Linked DNA regions of Homo sapiens: regions 2, 3 and 4 are each linked to region 1. Evidence: promoter capture Hi-C in 16 types of primary human blood cells and fetal thymus (Javierre and others, 2016). All regions are on one chromosome and are shown on one strand. Each heading gives the region's core, a stretch centred on a gene start or on the middle of the fragment in contact. The rest is flanking DNA. Distances are from core to core; before and after follow the strand shown.

Region 1 (2,918 bases), core at 58-2,557:
GCAAGAACTGGTCTCAGAGGAATTCATTCCTCCAGAGCAGAGGCAATGTGTGAGATTTAAGAACTCAGGCCTTAGCATCTGGCAGATCTTTAAATTTGAATCTTAGCTCGCTACTTGACATAGAGCAAGAAACATGAGTCTCAAATATAAATCAGGGAACAGCAGGACCAGAGCTGATGCACAGGAAGCACCTCGCATTGTAGAAGGCACTCAATAGCTGCTTGGTATAGAGTAAATACATGCTTGGTTTTCAGTAAATAAATACTTGATATTGAAACGATTATTTCAGTCATTGATCCATGCACAAGAAAATTGTGCATCATAAACATTTTACTCTTGAGCAAACATCAATTATTAAAAACATATGTTCAAATTCATTATCCATTCTATTTAATTAAATGCTTGAGGCGCTTGGGGAGCTTACATTTGTGATTTAAGTCTGTGCGTTTTTCAAATGTATCTTTCGGAAGAGATTAAGACACTGCAATTTTAAGCAGGGCAGGTGGCTCACGCCTGTAATCCCAGCACTTTGGGAGGCTGAGGTGGGCAGATCCCTTGAGGCCAGGAGTTCAAGACCAGCCTGGGCAACAAAGCGAGACACTGTCACCATAAAAAATATTTTTTTAAATTAAAAAGAGTGCAATTTGAACACATGTCAATATACGATTACCTTTTAATTCAAATGTGTAGCTATCTACTGTGCTGGAATCAGGTGGGCAGCAGGTGATCCCACTAGTGGCAACTTGGTGTTCTGCGATGTGGCACATCCACTTCTTAAATGCAGATTATTGCACTGTAATAAAAATCCTCCATATTCAGTGCTTTCATTGTGTATAATTATGTAAACTGTAGACAAAAAATATTCCTGAATTTGTGTGTGTGTGTGTGTGTGTGTGTGTGTGTGTGCGGATGCGCAATCCGAGATGGTTGTTAAAGCTCGAAAGCGAGTTTAGCTTCTAGAGTCGCCCCTCCTCCGAGGCCCAGCCGAGGTGGACTCGCACCGTCGCAAGACCGGCCAGGCGGTGGCAATGAATAAAAAGCCAGTCTTGGTGCTAGGGACCCAGGTGTTCTCCGTCCCGCCCCTGCCTGGCAGCCCCGCCCCTCCCCCGCCCCGGGCCACGCCCCACCCTGGCCCAGCCCCCAAAAGTACCGTTTGCATCTCCCGTGAGCCTCTTCGACTGTCACTCTTTGGAAAAAAAAGTGACGTCTGCACTGAGGTGGCCGCTAAAGTGCGAATCACGACGGGCGGTGGCCGTTGGGTCCCGGCGGGAGGCGGGGTTTCCGCTCCCTGGGGCGCACGTCAGTCAGGAGGCGGAAGCGCAGCGGGGGCGGGAAGGTTGTAGTGCCGCGAGTTGAGCTCCTCTTGCCTAAGTGGTCGCGCCCCCTTTAAGAGCAGCGATTGTAAGGAGAGGCGGTCCCGGTGTCCTCGGGTCCCAGGTAAGTACGACAGTCTGGAGGCACCGGGCAATAGAAAAGTGTGGCTCCGGTGCTAACCTGTCGCCGCCGTCTTTGTTGCTACAGGCAGCGACCTCCCTTCCGACCTTGCCACCTAACATTTCTGGCTCCTACTTGCTTCCTTCGTCTCGTTCACAGCCCGGGCCCAGCCGGCTCTGCACATCCGTAGGCAGGGACCTTTCTGGCACGCCAGTCTACCCTGTCACAAGATGGCCCTGTTGTCCTCCAGTCCTAACCCCGCATTGCTCGCTCTGTGTTTCAGCCGCTGGAGACACCTAACGATTCATTTACTAAAAACCGGTGTCTGTTTTCTATCCCTTGTGTCTTTCCCGGGCTCCCTAGACTAAGGCATCACTCTTTGCTGCCAATGAAATCAATTCTTTGCCTCCGGCACTGTGCCCACCTTTTAAAGAGCGGGTTTGTTAAGCTTTTTTTTTTTTTAATTAATAGTATGGTTGCTTGAATAAGACTTTATTTTCCCTTCTGAAAGCAGGATTAGGGTCTTGCTCATCTTGGATCTCCCCAGGATTTAGTACGAAAGCACGAAGTTTGGAAACCAGCAGCCCAAATAATTCCTACTAGCTCTATGACCCTGGGTACGGTTTCCTCATCTATAAAATGGTGATAAATAAATAAAGGAACTAATTTCGAGCATGTTACACAGTGTATGGTGCAGAGCAGATACAGTACTCCTTTACCTTTTTTAGCTTTCAGTGTACACAGTAGTTTTTGGGTATGTGTTTTAGACGAATGCAGAGACACCATAGATGAATGATTTTTCTTCCTAGCACCATGATTATATTGACTCTATCAATTGGTTGATATATTTGGTAAATACAACCTAATGACGTTTATTAAAGACAGTAATGCTAAATGGTATGAACATCTGCAAGAATAAACAATGCCGTATTTAATTAAATGCTTGAGGCACTAGCAGAGTTTACATTTGTTTCAGTCTGTGTACATTTCAAATGTATCTTTCTTTCTTTTCTTTTTTTTTTTTTTTGAGACCGAGTCTCGCTGTCTCGCTCTGTGGCCCAAACTGGAGTGCAGTGGCGCGATCTCGGCTCACTGCAACCTCCGCCACCCGGGTTCAAGTGATTCTCCCGTCTCGCCCTCCCGAGTAGCTGGGACTGCAGGCGCTTGCCACCACACCCGGCTGATTTTTTTTTTTAATTTTATTTTTAGTAGAGACTGGGTTTCACCATGTTAGCCAGGATGGTCTCGATCTGCTGACCTCGTGATCCGCCCGCCTCGGCCTCCCAAAGTGCTGGGATTACAGGCGTGAGCCACCGCGCCCGGCACAAATGTATCTTTCTGAAGAGATTAAGAAACAGCAAACATTTCATTGTAAGGAGGCTAGCTGTTCCTTTTAGTTTGTGATTAAAATATGGTGCATTGTATATGTGTGTACACATATTTTATAGGTGATTGTGAAGTGCTGACCAATTGCCACTGGACAT
Region 2 (3,253 bases), core at 740-3,239, 310 kb after region 1:
GAGGCCAAAGCTGTGGTGAGCCACGATCATGCCACTACATACCAGTCTGGGTGACAGAGTGAGACCCTGTTTCAAAGAAGAAAAAAAAAAGAACTAAAACTGAATGAATATGGGAGAATGAAAAGCTTCAGCTTTCTCCCCTTACGTCCTCTCCAAAAATTAGTGGATAAACTAATTACATCAAATCCTAAGTGGCACTAGTTAACCACTTTTACTACTAGGTGAAGTCATTTTAGATAAAATATCCTGCATTTGAGCGTGGCACATTTCACATTTAGCGCCCTATCAGTTGGACAAACATCATTTTGCATTTTCTCTCCTCTTCTGACACAGGCATTCACATTTCTTTGGGAAAGGCTGCCGGCTAGGGGTAAGATTTTGGATTTAAGGGAAGAGGCTCCACTTGAGCCAAAGCTCCGTGCTTCAGTCCAGCACCCCACAGCACTCTGCATTGGGATTATAAGTACAGCCTTGCTAACACTGAAGCATTCCCTCATTTTCCACTGGCCATTGTCCCTCACATGTACATATGGTCCTCCAGAACATTAGCGGGGAGAGTGGTAATGGTTTAGGCAGGATTTGGACATGCCTAGGTGCCCTACTATAATACCATGAAAGCCTTAGCTCAATCCCCAACACCTTTTTTCTAGGAACTTTTGAACTAATTGGGGAGAAAAGAAATACTAAGATCTAAAATAGTACAAGATAAGGATCAAATGAATGTTTTAAGAAATCAGAGAGGCCGGGCACGGTGGCTCACGCCTGTAATCCCAGCACTTTGGGAGGCTGAGTTGGGTGGATCATGAAGTCAGGAGTTCGAGACCAGCCTGGCCAATGTGGCGAAACCTGTCTCTACTAAATATACAAAAATTAGCTGGGCATGGTGGCAGGCGCCTGTAATCCCAGCTACTCGGGAGGCTGAGGCAGGAGAATCGCTTGAACCCAGGAGGCAGAGGTTGCAGTGAGCCGAGATTGCGCCACTGCACTCCAGCCTGGGTGACAAGAGCAAGACTCAGTCTCAAAAAAAAAGAAAAAAGAAATCAGAGAAAGAAAAATATAATTCTGATTAGTTGGCATGGTGAGGGAACTGACTTTGTGAAGAAGATGAAATTTAACCACATAAAGGAAGAATTTTTTCAAAAACAAATATATAAGGCACAAGTGCAATTTTCTCACATACATAGATTGTGCAGTGTCCAGGACTTTTAGGGTATCCATCACCCAAACAGCAAACATTGTACCGATTAAGTAATTTCTCTTCATCTACCCCCCTTGCATCCCTTCTTTCTTCCCAGTCTCCACAGTCTATCATTCCACACTCTTTTTCTTTTTTTTTTTTTTCTTTTTGAGACAGAGTCTTGCTCTGTCACCCAGGCTGGAATGCAGTGGTGCAATCTCAGCTCACTGCAACCTCCACCTCCCAGGTTCAAGCAATTCTTCCACCTCAGCCTCCTGAGTAGCTGGGATTACAGGCATCCACCACCATGTTCAGCTAATTTTTGTATTTTTAGTAGAGACGGGGTTTCACCATGTTGGCCAGGCTGGTCTTAAACTCCTGACCTCAAGTGATCTGCCTGCCTCGGCCTCCCAAAGTGCTGGGATTACAGGTGTGAGCCACCACGCCCAGCCTTATCAGATGGTTTTAAATCATGTTCTGTGTGAGCAAATACGTATTTCTCCAAAGACTCAGAAAATTCAAAACTCAAAACAAATTTTTAAATTAACATTATAGTTATACCTTTATTTTACCAATATCCAATAATTTTTTCAGAATGAAGGTATTACCTCCAAATTTCTTGATGGCTTTCTCCACTGCAGCACTGATCTGCTGTTCATCTCTCACATCAACAATACATGGCAAGGCCTTTCCTCCAACTGCTTCAACTTATATAAAGGATACAAAATGAAAAAGCGTTAAAGCATTTAAATATTATACCTTTAATTCCAATATCACAGTCAAAAGAAAAAAGTACCCTGTTTTCAGAAAATCAATATAAATAACTCTATCTTACCACCAGTGACTCTACCATATAGCAGGACAGACTAGCTAGGCTAACACTATTAAAAAACAAAAACGAAGGTTTGGTGGGGGTTTCTTTGTAATTTTTTTAAAAAGCTAAAAAAAGGAAGTTTTTTGTTTGTTTGTTTTTGTTTTTCAGACAGGGTCTCACTCTCTTGCCCAGGCTTGGGTGAAGTGGCACAAACACAGCTCACTGCAGCCTCAATCTCCCAGGCTCAAAGGATCCTCCCACCTCAGCTTCCCAAGTAGCTGGGACTATAGGCATGCACCACCACGCCAGGCTAATTTTTCTATTTTTTGTAGAGACACGGTTTTGCCATGTTGGTCAGGCTGGTCTCGCACTCCTGACCTCAAGTGATCCACCCGCCTTGGCCTCCCAAAGTGCTGGGATTACAGGCTTGAGCCACCTCACCCAGTTGAAAGTAATTTTTAAAAACTTTTTATTGTGGAAATATTCTAAACTATATAAAAATGTAAAGATGCTGTAATAAACTAACAGGAATCCATCACCTATCTTCAACGATTGTTAGTTTTGTCAGTTAATATGTTTATCTTTCCTGTCCCCTGTTTTATTTTTTGCTGGTGTGTTTTAAAGCAAATCCCTGACATCATTTCACTCATAAACACTTCACATGCATTCCTCTAACATAACCACAGTGCTCTGAACATGATTAACAAAACTAGCAATGTCAACTGAACTTGAATTTTTAAGCCCTCTCTCCTGGCTCTGTGCCTAGCGCTATGCCTTAAATAGAAGTATGTGATAATTATTTGTCAACTAAAAGTATTAAAATGATGACTTGCAAATTGTACAGAGAATAAATAACACAGAACGCTTTCTCAAAGAGTTCATGCCACTCACCAATCAAATTCTCTCCTCTCTACTCCACTTCCCTACTCCCCCTCCCATCCAAGAACCACTGCCCTCAAGAACCAAGATTTTTTTTTTTTTAAGAGATGGAGTCTCGCTCTGTCACCCAAGCTGGAGTGCTGTGGCATGATCTTGGCTCACTGCAACCTCCACCTCCCAGGTTCAAGTGATTCTCCTGCCTCAGCCTCCCGAGTAGCTGGGTGAAATTACAGGTGTGAGTCACCACGCCCCGCCATGAAATAAGATTTTTAACTGGAGTTTCTCACATTGCTTAAAAGTGCTGGTGGAGAAAAACGGTCAGAAGCACTGCCCCAAGGTGACAACATAAATACTTCTTTCACTAGATAAAATTATGTTCAGGG
Region 3 (3,063 bases), core at 215-2,714, 330 kb after region 1:
TGGTCAAGTGAAATCAGTTGAGATTTTGACAGAAATTACATTAAGTCTATAATTCAAAGTGGAAAGAATTGACATTTTTGTGACAGTGAGTGTTCTAATCCATGAACATGGTATAATTCCATTTATTTAGGTCTTTCTAATGTATTTCATTATGATATAATTTCCTACAGAAAGGTATTATACATCTTTTGTTGGCTTTATTCCTAGGTACTCCATTGTTTTTAACTTTTTCCAACTTTTTATTTGTAAATAATTCAAATTTAAAGTTGCAAGAATAATAGTACAAAAAAAATATTCACATATCCTTCACCCAGATTCATGTATTGTTAATATTTTACCCCAATGATTTAGCATTTGTGCTCATTTTCTCTCCTTCTCCCTTTCTCCTTCTCTATATCTTATTTTCTCCAAACCACTTAAGAGTGATTTGAGGCCAGGTGCAGTGGCTCATGCCTATAATCCCAGCAATTTGGGAGACCAAGACGGGGATCACTTGAGCCCAGAAGTCGAAACCAGCCAGGGCAACATAGTGAGACCCTGTCTCTACAAAATTAAAAAATTAGCCATGTGTGGCAGTGTGTGCCTGTAGTCCCAGCTACTCGGGAGGCTCAGTCAGGAAGACTGTTTGATCCCAAAGGTTGAGGCTGCAGTGAGCCATGATTACACCACTGTACTCTAGCCTGGGAAACAGAGACTGACCCTGTCTCAAAAAGAAAAAAAAAAAAAGTGATCTGAATACATCAAAGCTTGGTCTCTCATGTATCTACTTTCACAGTATTTTAATTTTGTCAATTGACTCAATAATGCCCTTTAGAGCATTTTTTCCTTCCACTACAGGACCCGGTTTAGGGTAGTGCTTTTAATTGACATATCTCTTTAGTCTCCGTTAATCTAGAACATTTTTGCAGCCTCTTCTGTCTTTTATGATATTGACCTTTTGAAAAATACAGTCTGCACTCCTTTTTTAAAAAATATAATGATCCTTACTTTTTTTTTTCCAAGATGGAGTCACACTCAGTCGCCCAGGTTAGAGTGCAGTGGCACTATCTCAGCTCACTGCAACCTCCACCTCCCAGGTTCAAGCAATTCTCCTGCCTCAGCCTCCTGAGTAGCTGGGATTACAGGCATGCACCACCACACCTGGCTAATTTTTTTTTGTATTTTTAGCAGTGACAGGGTTTCACCATGGTCTTGGACTCCTGACCTTGTGATCCACCCACCTAGGTTCCCAAAGTGCTAGGATTACAGGTGTAAGCCACCACACCTGGCGTATTTTTTTTTTTTTTTTTTTTGAGATGGAGTCTAGCTCTGTCTCCCAGGCTGGAGTGCAGTGGCGCGATCTCGGCTCACTACAACCTCTGCCTCCCACGTTCAAGTGATTCTCCTGCGTCAGCCTCCCGAGTAGCTGGGATTACAGGCACGCACCACAACGCCCAGCTAATTTTTCTATTTTTAGTAGAGACGGGATTTCACCATGTTGGTCAGGCTGGTCTTGAACTCCTGACCTCGTGATCTGCCCGCCTCGGCCTCCCAAAGTGCTGGGGTTACAGGCATGAGCCACTGTGCCTGGGTTTTTTTTTGTTTGTTTTTTTCTGAGACAGGCTCTTGCCCTGTCACCCAGGCTGAAGTACAGTGGTGCAATCACAGCTCACTGCAGCCTTGACCTCCTGGACTCAAGCAAATCTCCCACCTCAGCCTCCTGAGTAGCTGGGACTACAGGCACACATCATCAAGCCCAGCTAATTTTTTTATTTTTTGTGGAGACAGGGTCTCACCATGTTGGCCAGCCTGGTCTTGAATGCTTGGGCTCAAGCGATTCTCCTGCCTTGGTCTTGCAAAGTGCTGGGATTACAAGCATGAGCCACCACCCCTGGCTGAATGCTCATTTTGGATTCAACTGATATTTCTTCATGATTAGATTCCGGTTATGCATTTCCAACCAGAACATGTGATACTGTATTTTCCTCAGTATATCCCATAGGGCAGCATACAACGTCCATCCGTACTCACTTTATAATGTCAATTTTTATCATCTAACCATAGTGTTACCATATTTCTCCACTGCACAGTTACTATTCCTTCCCTTGCAACCAATAAACAATCAGTGCAAAAACGAAGACTCTTTTTATTATGGAATTTTCAAATACATTTAAAAAACCAGAAAAGAGTATAATAAGCTTCCATGTTTATTCAACTACTAAATTGTGAAAGCAATCATCAGAAAACAAATCCTAGGTAGGCATGGTGGCTCATGCCTATAATCTCAGCACTTTGGGAGGCAGAGGTGGGCAGAACGCTTTAGCCCTGGAGTTTGAGACCAGCCTGGGCAACATAGAGAAACCCCATCTCTACTAAAAAATACAAAAATTAGCCAGGCATGTGGTACGCACCCATAGTCCCAGCTACTCAGGAAGCTGAGGTTGGAGGATCACCTGAGCCCATGACACGGAGGTTGCAGTGAGCTGATTTCACACCACTGCACTCCAGCCTGAACCACAGAGTGAGACCCTGTTTCAAAAAAAAAAAAAAGAAAAGAAACCAAATCCCAGAGGTTATATACTTTCACCTATGAATACTTCAGTATTTACTTTTCTAACAGATAAAAACTTTTAAAATACCAATGTCATTATTATACCCAAGAAAATTAACAATAATTTCTCAATATCACTCAATATCTGTCTATGTTCAAACTTTTATAACTATCTCAGTTTTTCTTATGGTTGGCCTGATCAAATCAGGATCCAATAAGGACCTCACATTACATCTGGCTGTTATACCTTAAGAGTTTCTCTTTTAATCACTGCCAGCTTCCCTTCCACTCTTTATGCCATTTATTTGCTGAAGAATATACATCATATGTCCTGTAGTGGAGTCCATATCTGGGATTTTGAACTTCTCATTTTTATTGACATGTACTATATACTTCTTGCAGATTTTTGCTCGTGTAGAAATCTAACTTACTATTATTTTTTGAGAGAGTCTCCCTTTGTCGCCCAGGCTGGTGTGCAATGGCACAATCACAGATTACTGGAGACTTGACCTTCCCAGCTCAACTAATCCTCC
Region 4 (3,072 bases), core at 467-2,966, 360 kb after region 1:
TTTGTCTTTATTATGAATGGTATTTGCCATAAAAAGCCTTTGTGTATACATCATTGCTCACTAGTCATATCTCCATAGAATACATTTCTAGAACTGGGACTGTTTGCTCAGAGGATATACACACTTAATACCCTTTAGCAAGGTTATGCTAATAATTCATACCAGGATTTCTCAGCCGTGGCACTATTGACATTTTGGGTTGGATAATCATTTTTTGTGGGAGGCTGTCATGTGCATTAGAGTATGTTTAGCAGCATTCTTGGTCTGTACCCACTACATGCCAGTAGCATCAGTGGCACCCTCCTTCCAGTTTGTTTTTGTTTTTTTGAGACAGAGTCTCACTGTCTCCCAGGTTAGAGGACAGTGGCATGGTATCTACTCACTGCAACCTCTGCCTCCCACGTTCAAGCAATTCTCCTGCCTCAGCCTCCTGGGTAGTTGGGATTAAAGGCACCTGCCACCACGCCCAGCTAATTTTTTATTTTTTTTAGTAGAGACAGGGTATCATCACGTTGGCCAGCCTGGTCTTGAACTCCCGACCTCAGATGATCCACCTGCCTTGGCCTTCTAAAATGCTGGGATTACAGGCATGAGCCACCGCGCCTGGCCAAATTTTTTTGTTTATTTTTGTAAAACATACCTAACATAAAATTTACCATTTTAACTATATTGAAGTGTACAGTTCAACGGCATTAAGTACATTTACATTGTTGTGCAACCATCACCCCATCTATCTCCAACTCTTCCAGTTTTGTCAACCAAAAATGTCTCTGGAAATTGCCAAATGTCCTCTGGAGGCAAAATTGCTCCAGTTGTTTACACCTTCTCCAAGGTGAATAAGAAGTCAAAAATGTCGATGTCATAAAAAAATAGAAAGAAAGTCTAAGAAGCTGCAATAAAGAAGAAATGACAATTCAACGCAACACATAATCCTGAACTGGTTCCTGTATAGAAAAAAAAAATTGCTATAAAGAACACTATTGGCAGGCTGGGTGCAGTGGTTCACACCTGTAATCCCAACACTTTGGGAAGCTGAGTCTAGCAGATTGCTTGAACCCAGGAGTTTAAGACCGGCCTGGGCAACATGATAAAACCCTGTCTCTATAAAAAATACAAAAATTAGTAAGCATGGCTGCCTGCGCGTAGTCTCAGCTATTCAGGAGGCTGAGGTAAGAGGATCAACTGAGCCCAGGAAGGTCGAGGCTGCAGTGAGCTGTGATTGCACCACTGCACACCAGCCTGGATGACAGAGCAAGACCCTGCTCAGAAAAAACAAACAAACAAAACAACAACAACAACAACACAAAAAGAACACTACTGGAAATTAACAAATTGGAATATGCAGTAGAGATTAAAGTATTGTATCAGTAATGAATTTCCTGATTTGACAACTCTGCTGGGTTATGCAAGAGAATTTCCACGTCTTAGTATGAAGTATTAAAAGGTAGAGGGAGGCCGGGTGCGGTGGCTCATGCCTGTAATCTCAACACTTTGGGAGGCTGAGGTGGGCGGATCACCTGAGATCAGGAGTTCGAGACCAGCCTGACCAACATGGTGAAACCCCGTCTCTACTAAAAATACAAAAAAATTAGCCGGGTGTGGTGGCGGGTGCCTATAATCCCAGTTACTCGGGAGACTGAGGCAGGAGAATCGCTTGAACCTGGGAGGTGGAGGTTGCAGTGAGTTGAGATCACGCCATTGCACTCCAGCCTGGGCAACAAGAGTGAAACTCTGTCTCAAAAAAAAAAAAAAAAAAAAAAGAGGGAAATGAATATACACCTGCTCTGAAATGAAATGGTTGGGGCCAAATTGTGTGTGTGTGTGTGTGTGTGTGTGTGCGCACACGCAATTGTCTCAAAAGCCTCTTGAGTCTTTCCCTTATATCTCTGACAATCCCACTGCTCCAAAGTACACTGTGGGTTTTCCTCAACTTGGAGCTAGATACCTGGAATTCTAGAAAACAATTCCCTCAGTAGACAATTGCTCCCTTATATGAGCACAAGCAGCGGAGTGACTACATGGATCAAGCTGTATTTCACCATTTTTTTTTTTTGCTCTGTTGCTTTATGTACCACACCAGCCCCACACAACTCTTCACCAAAGAGTTGTGGAATTATTGCATAAGAGAAAAAAATCTTAACTATATGACAACTGCTATGTCACACAGACTGCTAGTGGCTTACCCACTACTTCTTACCAACATTATTTTTAGAGGTGACAATATAACCAGCAAAAACACTGCACCTCCCAGCCACTTTTACAGCCAGGGATGGCCACATGACCAAATTACGGCTTATGAGACGTATGTGGAAGATGCTGGGAAGGACTTCTGGGAAAGCTGCTTTAAAGAGTTTCCAGTCCGGTACTGTGGCTCACACCTGTAATCTCAGTACTTTGGGACGCCGAGGCGGGTGGATCACCTGAGGTTAGGAGTTCTAGACTGGCCTGGTCGACATGGTGAAATCCTGTTTCTACTAAAAATACAAAAAATTAGCTTGGTGTGGTGGTGTGCGCCTGTAATCCCAGCTACTTGGGAGGCTGAGGCAGGAGAATCCATCTAAGAGAGAGAGAGAGAGAAAGGGAGGGAGGAAGAAAGGAAGAAGGAAAAGAAGAAGGAAAGAAGGAAGGAAAGAAAAGAAAGAGAAAGAAAGAAGGAAGGAAGGAGAAAGAGAAAGAGAAAGAAAGAAAGAAAAGAAAAGAAAGAAACTTTTATTTCCAGGTGGGGTGTGGTGGCTCCTGCCTGTATTCCCAGCACTTTGTGAGCCCAAGCCGGATAGATGGCTTGAGTCCAGGAGTTTGAGACTGCCTGGCCAACGCGAAACCCTGTCTCTACAAAAAAATACAAAAATTAGCCAGGCGCGGTGGCGCATGCCTGTAATCACAACTACTCAGGAGGCTGAGGATTGCTTGAACCCAGGAGGTCAAGCCTGCAGTGAGCTGTGATCACGCCACTGCACTCCAGCTTGGGCAACTCCCCAACACCCACCCTCCACAAAAAAAAAAAAAAAAAAAAGAAAAAGAGTTCTTAGCCATTTTGTAATCTTAAGAATGATGAAAGCCATATGCTTATGT

What was found. Contacts are between HindIII fragments. The CHiCAGO score rates a contact against its expected background, and 5 or more counts as called.
Region 2: a contact is called between a fragment that was not itself captured here and the fragment with the promoter of INIP in region 1, in 1 of 17 cell types (megakaryocytes). The highest score is 5.0, in megakaryocytes.
Region 3: a fragment that was not itself captured here is called in contact with the fragment with the promoter of INIP in region 1 in 5 of 17 cell types (fetal thymus, endothelial precursors, total CD8 T cells and 2 more); the score reaches 7.9 in fetal thymus.
Region 4: a contact is called between a fragment that was not itself captured here and the fragment with the promoter of INIP in region 1, in 2 of 17 cell types (fetal thymus and megakaryocytes). The highest score is 6.0, in fetal thymus.

The regions. Positions count from the first base shown.
Region 1 is chr9:112,716,506-112,719,423 of GRCh38, reverse strand. It overlaps INIP (INTS3 and NABP interacting protein), which reads left to right and starts at 1,307. Exons shown (of 5, transcript NM_021218.3): 1 at 1,307-1,437; 2 at 2,883-2,918. RefSeq lists a silencer at 1,096-1,255 and an enhancer at 1,626-1,725. The HindIII fragment of the contact is 2,113 bases long and covers 1-1,884 here.
Region 2 is chr9:112,404,255-112,407,507 of GRCh38, reverse strand. It overlaps HSDL2 (hydroxysteroid dehydrogenase like 2), which reads right to left. Exons shown (of 11, transcript NM_032303.5): 3 at 1,786-1,884. Among named protein-coding and RNA genes, the nearest start is that of HSDL2, 26 kb to the right of the region's middle. The HindIII fragment of the contact is 3,724 bases long and covers 128-3,253 here.
Region 3 is chr9:112,386,690-112,389,752 of GRCh38, reverse strand. All of the region lies in intron 1 of HSDL2 (hydroxysteroid dehydrogenase like 2), which reads right to left. Among named protein-coding and RNA genes, the nearest start is that of HSDL2, 8.1 kb to the right of the region's middle. The HindIII fragment of the contact is 1,431 bases long and covers 749-2,179 here.
Region 4 is chr9:112,355,563-112,358,634 of GRCh38, reverse strand. It overlaps a transcript of PTBP3 not described here. Among named protein-coding and RNA genes, the nearest start is that of HSDL2, 23 kb to the left of the region's middle. The HindIII fragment of the contact is 4,467 bases long and covers 1-3,072 here.